Linked DNA regions of Homo sapiens: region 1 is linked to region 2. The links are contacts of gene promoters, found by promoter capture Hi-C in human tissues and cell types (Jung and others, 2019). All regions are on one chromosome and are shown on one strand. Each heading gives the region's core, a stretch centred on a gene start or on the middle of the fragment in contact. The rest is flanking DNA. Distances are from core to core; before and after follow the strand shown. Region 1 has its middle 9.0 kb from the start of ATP5MC2. Region 2 holds the start of HOXC5 (homeobox C5).

Region 1 (4,711 bases), core at 1,913-4,412, 350 kb before region 2:
ACAGGCGTGAGCCACCGCGCCCGGCCTCTTTTTTTTTTTTTTGAGCTGGAGTCTCGCTCTGTCACCCAGGCTAGAGTGCAGTGGTGCAATCTCGGCTCACTGCAATCTCTGCCTCCTGGGTTCATGCCATTCTCCTGCCTTAGCCTCCCGAGTAGCTGGAACTACAGGTGCCTGCCACCATGCCTGGCTAATTTTTTTTTTTTTTTTTTGTATTTTCAGTAGAGGCGGGGTTTCACCGTATTAGCCAGGATGGTCTTGATCTCCTGACCTCGTGATCCTCCCACCTCGGCCTCCCAAAGTGCTGGGATTACAGGAGGTCAGGAGATCAAGACCATCCTGGCCAATATGGTGAAACCCCGTCTCTACTAAAAATACACAAATTAGCTGGGTGTGGTGGCACACACCTGTAAGAACGTGCCACTGCACTCCAGCCTGGTGACAGATCGAGATCCATATCAAAAAAGAAAAAAAAAAGGAATTTCATGGTGGTTTGAATTTATATTTCCCCTATTGTTGATGAGGTTGAGTGGTTGAGTATCTTTTCATATATTTATTGGCCATTCATGTTCTGTCTTCTGTGAAATGCCTAGTCATGTATGTCTTTTGCCCATTTTCCTATTGGGTTATTTGTTATCTTCCTATTGATTTTTAGGAATTAACAAATATATGTCCTAGTACTGATCCTTGTTAATGGCAGTTTGTGGAGGGGTTGGGATTTTAGTAGAAGATCTAAGGATGGATGATTTCAGTTCTAGCTCAGTCTTTATTGAGTTGGATTAATTAATTCTTAATTAATTCATCAATTATTTATTGAATGCCTAGGCAGACATCATGCTAAACATTGAGAATACAAATATCTCCCACATTTGCCTATTCCTTACCACTTCCAAAATCTAACTTGGTCCAAGCCACTGACATCTCTTGCTGGTTCACTACAATACTTCCTAGCTGATCTCCTTGATTCCGGTTTGGCCTGGCCACAGTCTACACTCCACACAGTGAGTAGCTAAACTGGTCTTTTAAAATGTAGATCAGCTCGAGCCCATGAGTTTGAGGCTGTGGTGAGCTATGATTGCATTACTGCACTCCAGCCTGGGTAACAAAGCAAGACTCTGCCTCTAAAAAATAAAAAATAAAGAAAAAAAAAGGAAAATATAGATTGGATCTTGCTACTTAAAACCTTCTAATAGTTTTATAGTACTTGTAGACAAAATTCAAGGGTCCAGCTATAATAGGCTCTTACTGAACTTCAGATACAGCAAAGATTTTCTCACTCAGGACCCTTGCTATTCCCTCTTCCTGGAACCTTCTTCCCCCAGATTATGCCTTGGCTGGCTCTCTCATTTCATTTAGGCCTCGTCTCTGATATCGTCTCCTCAGAGACGCCTTTCCTGACCACTCTCTCTAAATAGCCATCACCCTCTCTTCTTTATCCCTTTATATTTCCTTATTTTTCTTTTTAGCACTTATGTATTTTTTTAAATTTTATTTATTTATTTATTTATTTATTTATTTATTTATTTTTGAGATGGAGTTTTGCTCTCGTTGCCCAGGCTGGAGTGTAACGGCACGATCTCAACTCACTGCAACCTCCGCCTCCTGGGGTCAAGTGATTCTCGAGCCTCAGCTGAGAAGCTGGGATTACAGCATGCACCACCATGCCCGGCTAATTTTGTATTTTTAGTAGGGATGGGGTTTCACCACGTTAGCCAGGATGGTCTCGAACTCCTGACCTCAGATGATTTGCCCACCTCGGCCTCCCAAAGTGCTGGGATTACAGGCTTAAGCCACCCCACTGAACTATTTTTATTTTTTATCGCTTTTACCCCATTAGAAGATAAGCTTCCCTAAGGCAGGGACGTTGTTCATCACTGTATCCCCAGCATTTAGAACAGTACCTGGCACATACTAGGCTCTCAACAGAAATTTTGTGAATGATTAAACAGTGCATAAGATAGAGTCCTTGCCCTTAACAACTTTATAGTCTAACAGGGGATACACAGGATTATTAAATAAAAGGCAAATAATTTCAACACAGAACAATAGTATTATAAAAAGGGTAAGCAGTGGGTGCTATGGAAATACATAGGACGGACATGCATCACAGTGCTGAGAAGGGGTAGTCAAGGAAGGCCTCCAGAAGGGGGTGACATTTCTGAGATGCCTAAAAAAACTGTATAGGGAGGGACTGAAAGGATGTTCCACGGAGTAGGGGCAATATGTACAAAGGCTTGGAAGTGAGGGATTAAGTGATCTTTTCAACAGAGGGCAAGTAATTCAATGTGGCCAGAATGAACAGTTGTGGTGTGGCAGGATACAGAGAGATGAGACTAGTTGGTGGTGGCTAGATCCTGAAGGATCTTGAACATCGAGCTAAGGCATTTGGATTTCATCCAGAAAGCAACAAGGAGTCATTTAAGCAAGAGAGTGAGAGGCTCAAGTGTGCATTTAAAAAAGATCATTCTAGCTCTAGTGTGGAGGACTGATGAGAAAGGGCAGGCCTGGCAGCACAGAGAGCAAAAAGGAGGCTGTTGTCGAAATCCAGGTGGGAGAACAGGGTGCCTTGAGCTTGGGGGTGATAGTGGGGATGGTGAGGAGTAGGAGGAGCTCAGAGAGCTTTCGAAGGAAGACCTTACAGGCCTCAGTGATTGACTGGTGTATGAGATAAAGGAGAAGGGAGAGGTGAAGATGGCGCTCAGTTTTCTGGCCTGGGTTACCGAGTGGTGCCATTCTGTGACTCTCTCCCAAGCCTAATCCATCTCCACATTCTAGGAACCACCCCCGCCAGGCTTTACAACCTAGGAGCCTACCCCTAAGGCTAACCTTCCTCTAAACTTGGTCCTGTACCCAATTACCCAGCATTGGTTTAACCTTTTCTTTGGGTTCTATTCCCTCTACTTTCTTCCCACTAAATGAAATGGAAACTTCTCTCTAGATACCCCTGGTTCTGTTCTTATTTTGCCAAACTTACCTGACTCACTAGGCCCTTGTGTATTTGATTAAAGCTCATCAGAGAGCAAGAATCTTCCACAATCTCTCTCCATAGAGGCTAAAACAGGGTTGTAGCTCAAGGGAGCCACTGTTGGGTACTATAAGCAGCCTGAAGACTCCTAGACATACAGGACAGAAGAGTGGCAGGACAGACAGTAAAATGACTACAGGTGGCCGGGTGCGGTGGCTCACGCCTGTAATCCCAGCACTTTGGAAGGCCGAGGTGGGTGGATCACTTGAGGACAGGAGTTCGAGACCAGCCTGGCCAACATGATGAAATCCTGTCTCTACTAAAAGTACAAAAATGAGCTGGGAGTGGTGGCTCATGCCTGTAATCCCAGCTACTTAGGAGGCTGAGGCAGGAGAATCTCTTGAACCCGGGAGGCGGAGGTTGCAGTGAGCCAAGATTGCGCCATTGCACTCCAGCCTGGGTGACAGAGTGAGACCTTGTCTCAAAAAGAAAAAAAAAATGACTACAAGTATGCAATGTAAGTTAGTTACATCCTCTTTAGGTGGAGAATAGCAGAAGTCACGGCAACCATGGAAGGGCAAGGGTGAGAAATCAGCAGCCCCTTTTGTAATAAGCTGAAAAGTTTCTGATGAAAAGGTGAATTTGGCAAGCTGTGAGAATGAAGAGGGGGAATTGCTGGTGGGCAAGTCTGGAGGCTTTCTAGCCATGAAGAACAGAATGGGAAGGGCAGAAAGAAGAATCAGAGTGCTGTAGTGAGATGAGTGAGCCCACCTCTAATATTTGTGGGGCTCACAGCAAGAGAAAAATTTAGGCCCCGATACCAAATATCTAAATATGTAAAAGTTATAAATCAAAGCTAATAAACCATTAAGTAAACATGTCCTACCCTCTTATCTTGACAAATATATCAATATCAACTGGAAGGTTTATATTTAGAATTCTGGAATTCCTTCAAGTCCCTGTTTGCCTCATGTTCTCTTTCCATTCATGGCTCTGTCCCACTGCCGAAGGGGCCTCACACAAAAGTGTGCGCTCAGTAAGGCCATACATCTAAACTCCATCTGCACTACAGGCCAACAGGACTAGGAATGTGCCCCCAGTAGCTCAGTCTGTGCTCTCAAGAGATCAGCCCCCAGGAAGAGGCTGTGGGCTGTGGCCTTGGAAGGGGCTGCTCAACAGGGGATTCTGGTAACTGGAGCATGTCTAGGAGTGGGGAGAAATGAGCTCTGGGTAGACATATCCACTTGGCCTTAAGTTATCCTCCTTCTGGAGGAGGATGAGGCCGTCTTTAAAAAAACAAGCACCAAAGATAAAATCCCTCTGGCCAAGTCTAAAGGCATGGACTCCAAAATGATATAGAGCTAGTTCAAATCCCTATTGTAATATTTCTTTATTCTTCTTTGAACCTGAGCAGGCTCTTTGAGTCTCCATTTTCTTACTTGTAAAATGGGGATAATAATAACTACCTTACAGCGTTATTGTGAGAATTAAGCAAATGTGTGCAAAGCACCTGGTATTTAATAATCGCTACTTAGTTCACATTGTTTTTCTTCCCACTCACTACCATGCTTCCCTTAAAGTAACCATGCAGGCTGGGGGAAAAAAATATGATTTTTTTTTGGTAAGGCTATCTGGCAGAAGTGAGTCTAAGAAAAAGGAATTTATAAAGAAGACAGTAATAATCTAGGCAGTAATAATCCCAGCTCAGCCTGGAACCACGTGGGAGAAAGAGGGAGAGGAAGTTATTTT
Region 2 (4,633 bases), core at 262-2,761:
GGACCCTAACCATTTATCAACCCTGGCCTTCTCTCTCCAAGCCTGGCCAGAGAAACCTGAGTGGGCCTACAGGGAGAGGTGTTGAGGAGGGTCTCCGGAGGGAAAAAATCCGCCAGAGTTTTCCGGGCCCTTCAGATTCCCTCCAGCGCCCCCACCCTCGCCTCCAGTGCCTCCACCAGTGAGGAGGGGGCCTTCTCCTGGCGGGGCGGAGATTTCCTGGGAAGAAGCAGGCAGGGAAGTATGAGACTTGGGGCTACGGGGGAAGAGGATGGGGCCGAATGGCTGCAGATACCCTGCGAAGGCTACCCAGGCGCCTGCCCTGCCCACCCCCCAGGTCCGCCCCATTCCTCTTGGTAGCTCAGAAATTGCTCTCTTGTGAACCTTATGGATTCAGGTCCCTGGAAAGCCTAGCCCAGAGACCTTTTCCCCAAAGGGCACATAACGGGCCTTTTCCTCTGCCATGCTCACGTAATATTTGTGGAGGCTTCAATCTTGCTTCTCCATGTCCTCAATTAACATCTATTTTCTGTCTAAAACCTCTGGCATAGGTACCACATAAGGATCGCACACAGGGAAACAGAGCAGTCCTCTAGACCATTGTCTGGCTCTGTCCGTGTCCACACACACACTTGAAAATTGCCTTGTTGCCACTCTGGGGACCCTAGCATGGTGAGGTCTAGCCAACTCCACCTGGCTCCTCACCTCCAGATCCATCCCAAACAGCCTGCAACACCCTCAGCTTCATGACCCCCCTATCTTGTTCTGACCACTCAGGATCCCTCCTCCTGGGCGTCCTGTCTACCTCTTCAGAAGCTAATTCTACTTTCTCTTGCTGATAGGCACCTCTTCAGCAGTAGTGGAGCCTTAGGGCCTGAGAGGCAAGGGACTTCTACCTTTGGTTTAGGGAACCTAAGTTAAACCCCATTGGTTCTCCAGCCTGGGCATAGGCCACCTTACCTAACTTAATCCCCTTTCCTCAGCCATTTTTGAAGATTGGAAGACCCTGGAGGTTGGGAGAACGGGACTTTCATTACAAAAAGCACTCTGTGCGTTATAAGTGGGGCCTCGTCTTTTCCCAATTTTAAATAGAATTTAAAAGGCTAGCTCAGGGGTTGCCCCAACAACCAGCTTCTCCTTCACAGTGTAGGAAATCCAGCCACCGGAAAGCAAGCTGGCGCTCCAGGATGCAATTCCCCCACATAGGCACCAGGTGTCGCTGTGGGCTTGTTGTCCCGGCTACCCCCAATTCCAAGAACCTTTTTTTTTTTTTCCCTCCCCCTTCCCTCTTTCTCTCTCTCACTCCCTCTCCCCCTTGGTTGGGCTTTGCCAACATATCGAGATGCTTTTCGCCGGCTTCCATCACTAACCTCCCGGAGGTCATCAAGCCAAATTTATGAGTGGCCGCTCGAGTCACGTGACTCTATTTAAGGCTCCCTTATTTGGGAAGAGCGCATAGGATAAAGAAAGAGATATCTCCACCTATAAATTGTCCACTTTGGAGAACAAAAAACCCCTCAACTTCAAAGAGTCACAAATCACCCTTAATCAAAAAGGGTGCAGAAATTTTTTTGGGCCCTCCCCGCCATGAGCTCCTACGTAGCCAATTCATTCTATAAGCAGAGCCCCAATATCCCTGCCTATAACATGCAAACTTGTGGGAACTATGGATCGGCCTCAGAGGTGCAGGCATCCAGGTACTGCTACGGCGGATTGGACTTAAGCATCACTTTCCCACCGCCTGCGCCTTCCAACTCTCTCCACGGGGTAGACATGGCTGCCAACCCCCGGGCTCACCCCGACCGCCCCGCCTGCAGCGCCGCGGCCGCTCCGGGACACGCTCCGGGCAGAGACGAAGCGGCTCCTCTGAACCCCGGGATGTACAGTCAGAAGGCGGCTCGCCCGGCGCTGGAGGAGCGAGCTAAGAGCAGTGGGGAGATCAAAGAGGAGCAGGCGCAGACAGGGCAGCCCGCCGGACTGAGCCAGCCACCGGCCCCGCCACAGATTTACCCGTGGATGACCAAACTGCACATGAGCCACGGTAAACTTTAGGACTTCATTTTGCGCTCTCGGGTCCGCCTGGGTTTTATAGGCCATGCGGGGCAAATAAAGAAAAAAAACCTGCGGCCATAAATTTTACGATCCAGGCATCAATGGCTCGTAAAACTGTCCACTAAAAGGCTTAGAGGCTGTGTGCGCCCAAATTTACGACGACATAATTGGATCATAGGAACAAAACGTGTATAAAAGGCAATATTCAATTTTTGGGGGAGAGGGAGGGAGTTAAAAAAATAGAGGGATCTGAAGGGTGAGGAGCGCGGGGCTCCAGAGCGGGGATCCCCCCGCGGCTCCCTCCCTCCCTCCCCTGCGGAGCCGGCTCCGCCGGCGCTTGCGGCTCCGGAGGATTCCAGCGACTCGGGAGGGGCGGGAGGGGGGTCCCCGGTGCTCGGATCTCGAGGGTGCTTATTGTTCGGTCCGAGCCTGGGTCTCCCTCTTCCCCCCAACCCCCCCTCAGCCCCTCCGGCTGCAGAGTGAAGGCTGCGGTGGAAAGTTTCCTGCCTGGGCGGAGGCGCCTCTCCCGGGGCTGGGCTGGGCTGGCCCGCCTGCGGCCCGCGTGGCCTGTCTTGCGGCTCTCGCCTCCTCTCCCTCCGGCCGCGGGTGGGGGCCTGGGCTGGGGTGGGGACGGGGGAACGCTGCAAGCTATTCACCCCTTCCTGGCTTGGGGTGGGGTTTATGTTCCAGAGACGGACGGCAAGCGGTCCCGAACCAGTTACACGCGCTACCAGACTCTGGAACTCGAGAAAGAATTCCACTTTAACCGCTACCTCACTCGCCGCAGGCGCATAGAGATCGCCAACAACTTGTGTCTCAATGAGAGACAGATCAAGATCTGGTTCCAGAACCGCAGGATGAAGTGGAAGAAAGATTCCAAAATGAAAAGCAAAGAGGCTCTTTAGAGGCAGCGGGGGAGGCCCGCAGAGCGCGCCCCTAGCCGGTTCCTGTCCCTGCGCCTTTCCTTTTCGCCTTTCCTCTCTATATTTCGGGTCGGGGGCAGGTGCTGGAGCACTGGGCTCCCGGGCCCCACAGACAAAAGCGCTTTTCCTTGGCATTCCGCATCCCTACCGACCCAGGGTTCCCGCGGGGCTGTCGGCGCTGCCCCATCTCCCCTCAGCTCGGCTCAGCTCGGTACCCGGGGCCCAGGGCAAGCTCCGCAGGACTTCCCCGGAGGGCTGCGGCGTACAGGCTGGCGCAGAACGAACCTTGGCCTGGGCCGTATCTCCGGCTCCCAGCCTCAGCGCGGCCCTCCCGAGTTAAGGTGGGCCCGGCCCGCGCCACAGGACCCTCGCCGGACCCTCTAACCTCGCCCTCTCCTTTGTTCCCGGCTGGACGGGTTAGACAGCCAAAGGCTGGCGAGAGTCTGGCCCTAGACTCGGGGTGCTTCCTTGTAGCGACTAAACTAGATTTTCACTTATGAATGATTTGCATATGAAAGGAGAGCATCGGCCTAGGGCCCCCACAGTTGCTCTATGCTTTCCAAACCTTATCTCCACAACCTCTTCCCCCCAAAACCCGGGAACCTCCCCAGCCTGCGCCTGCTGCATGCCCTCTCAGGCCGGCAGCCCCAGCCTGCTAGCTAGCTCAACTAGTGGGGTTTCCTGGCACTGGACCCCAGCAAGTGGTCCTAGAGGCCCTTTGCTGTCCCATAGTCCCTGCCACGAATTTCTGTGCCCTCCTGACCCATTGCTGTTGTCCAACTATTTATTGACTCTGGGTCCTTCCTGAAACTATATTTTGTCATATCAAATAAAGAGAGAACAGGACTAAAGATGCAGTGGCTCCTGTCTGTTTGGGGCATGTATTGGGTAAAATTGTCTAAATGGGCTGTGAGATGTAGAAGGAGACCCACAAACTTTAAGCCACCCCTTTAAAAAATTTTCTAGCTTCTAGGGGCAGTGAGTAGAGGGAGGTGAAATTGAGCTCCTTTCCTGTTCCTTGGCTGCAACAAGAGCCTCTGGGGGAAGAGAAGGGCACCTAGGCCTCGAGTACTGGCTTTTCCCATGCTGTGGCTGTCCAAGGCCTTCACGCCTCTGCACTCCAGGAGGCCTCTGGACTGGCAGCAGCCCCCACTGTGTGCCAAAGCTGCGGTGCAGGAACCAGTGGCTCCACCGTGCTCAGCCTTAGGACCTTCTGGGCCTCTGAAGATCTTTCCTGGGCCTAGGTGGTCCCTGAGAGGCCTTGCTGGACATAGAGGGAGGGCTGAGCCCTCACTCTAGGGACCCATTTGGTCTCATAAGGGCCTCTAGAGGGAGGTGGTATTGCTTGGTAAGGGGGTGTTGGGAGAGTTGGAGGAGGTGTGCCTCAGTATCTAAGATACTGGGGAAGAGGGAGCAGGGAGGACAATCTGCAGTGTGTATCAGCCTGGCAGGAAATGTTCAGACTGTTTCCACCACCTTCTAGGGCCTCGGGCTATGCAGGACAATTAACTGGGAAAGGAGCTGCATAGACCAGTGCTGGAGTCACGTCTGTCTGCCATCATTTATCTCAGTCTCTGGGATTTTGTGTGGAGGGGAGGATGGGTTAAAAGTGGGGGTGGGAGGAGGCAGATAATTCAGGTAGTGTCTGAGGATCAGGTCCT

What was found. Contacts are between HindIII fragments. The study calls those that stand out against the background at their distance.
Region 1: a fragment that was not itself captured here is called in contact with the fragment with the promoter of HOXC5 in region 2 in 1 of the 25 tissues and cell types used here (neural progenitor cells).

Annotation. Positions count from the first base shown.
Region 1 is chr12:53,682,695-53,687,405 of GRCh38, forward strand. No RefSeq gene overlaps it. Among named protein-coding and RNA genes, the nearest start is that of ATP5MC2, 9.0 kb to the left of the region's middle. The HindIII fragment of the contact is 7,655 bases long and covers 1-4,711 here.
Region 2 is chr12:54,031,539-54,036,171 of GRCh38, forward strand. HOXC5 (homeobox C5) reads left to right here and starts at 1,512. Exons shown (of 2, transcript NM_018953.4): 1 at 1,512-2,038; 2 at 2,740-3,823. The coding sequence starts at 1,585. The coding sequence ends at 2,954. MIR615 (microRNA 615) reads left to right here and starts at 2,412; the gene lies at 2,412-2,507. It also overlaps a transcript of HOXC4 not described here. RefSeq lists enhancers at 1,027-1,321, 1,316-2,467 and a silencer at 2,551-2,610. The HindIII fragment of the contact is 19,535 bases long and covers 1-4,633 here.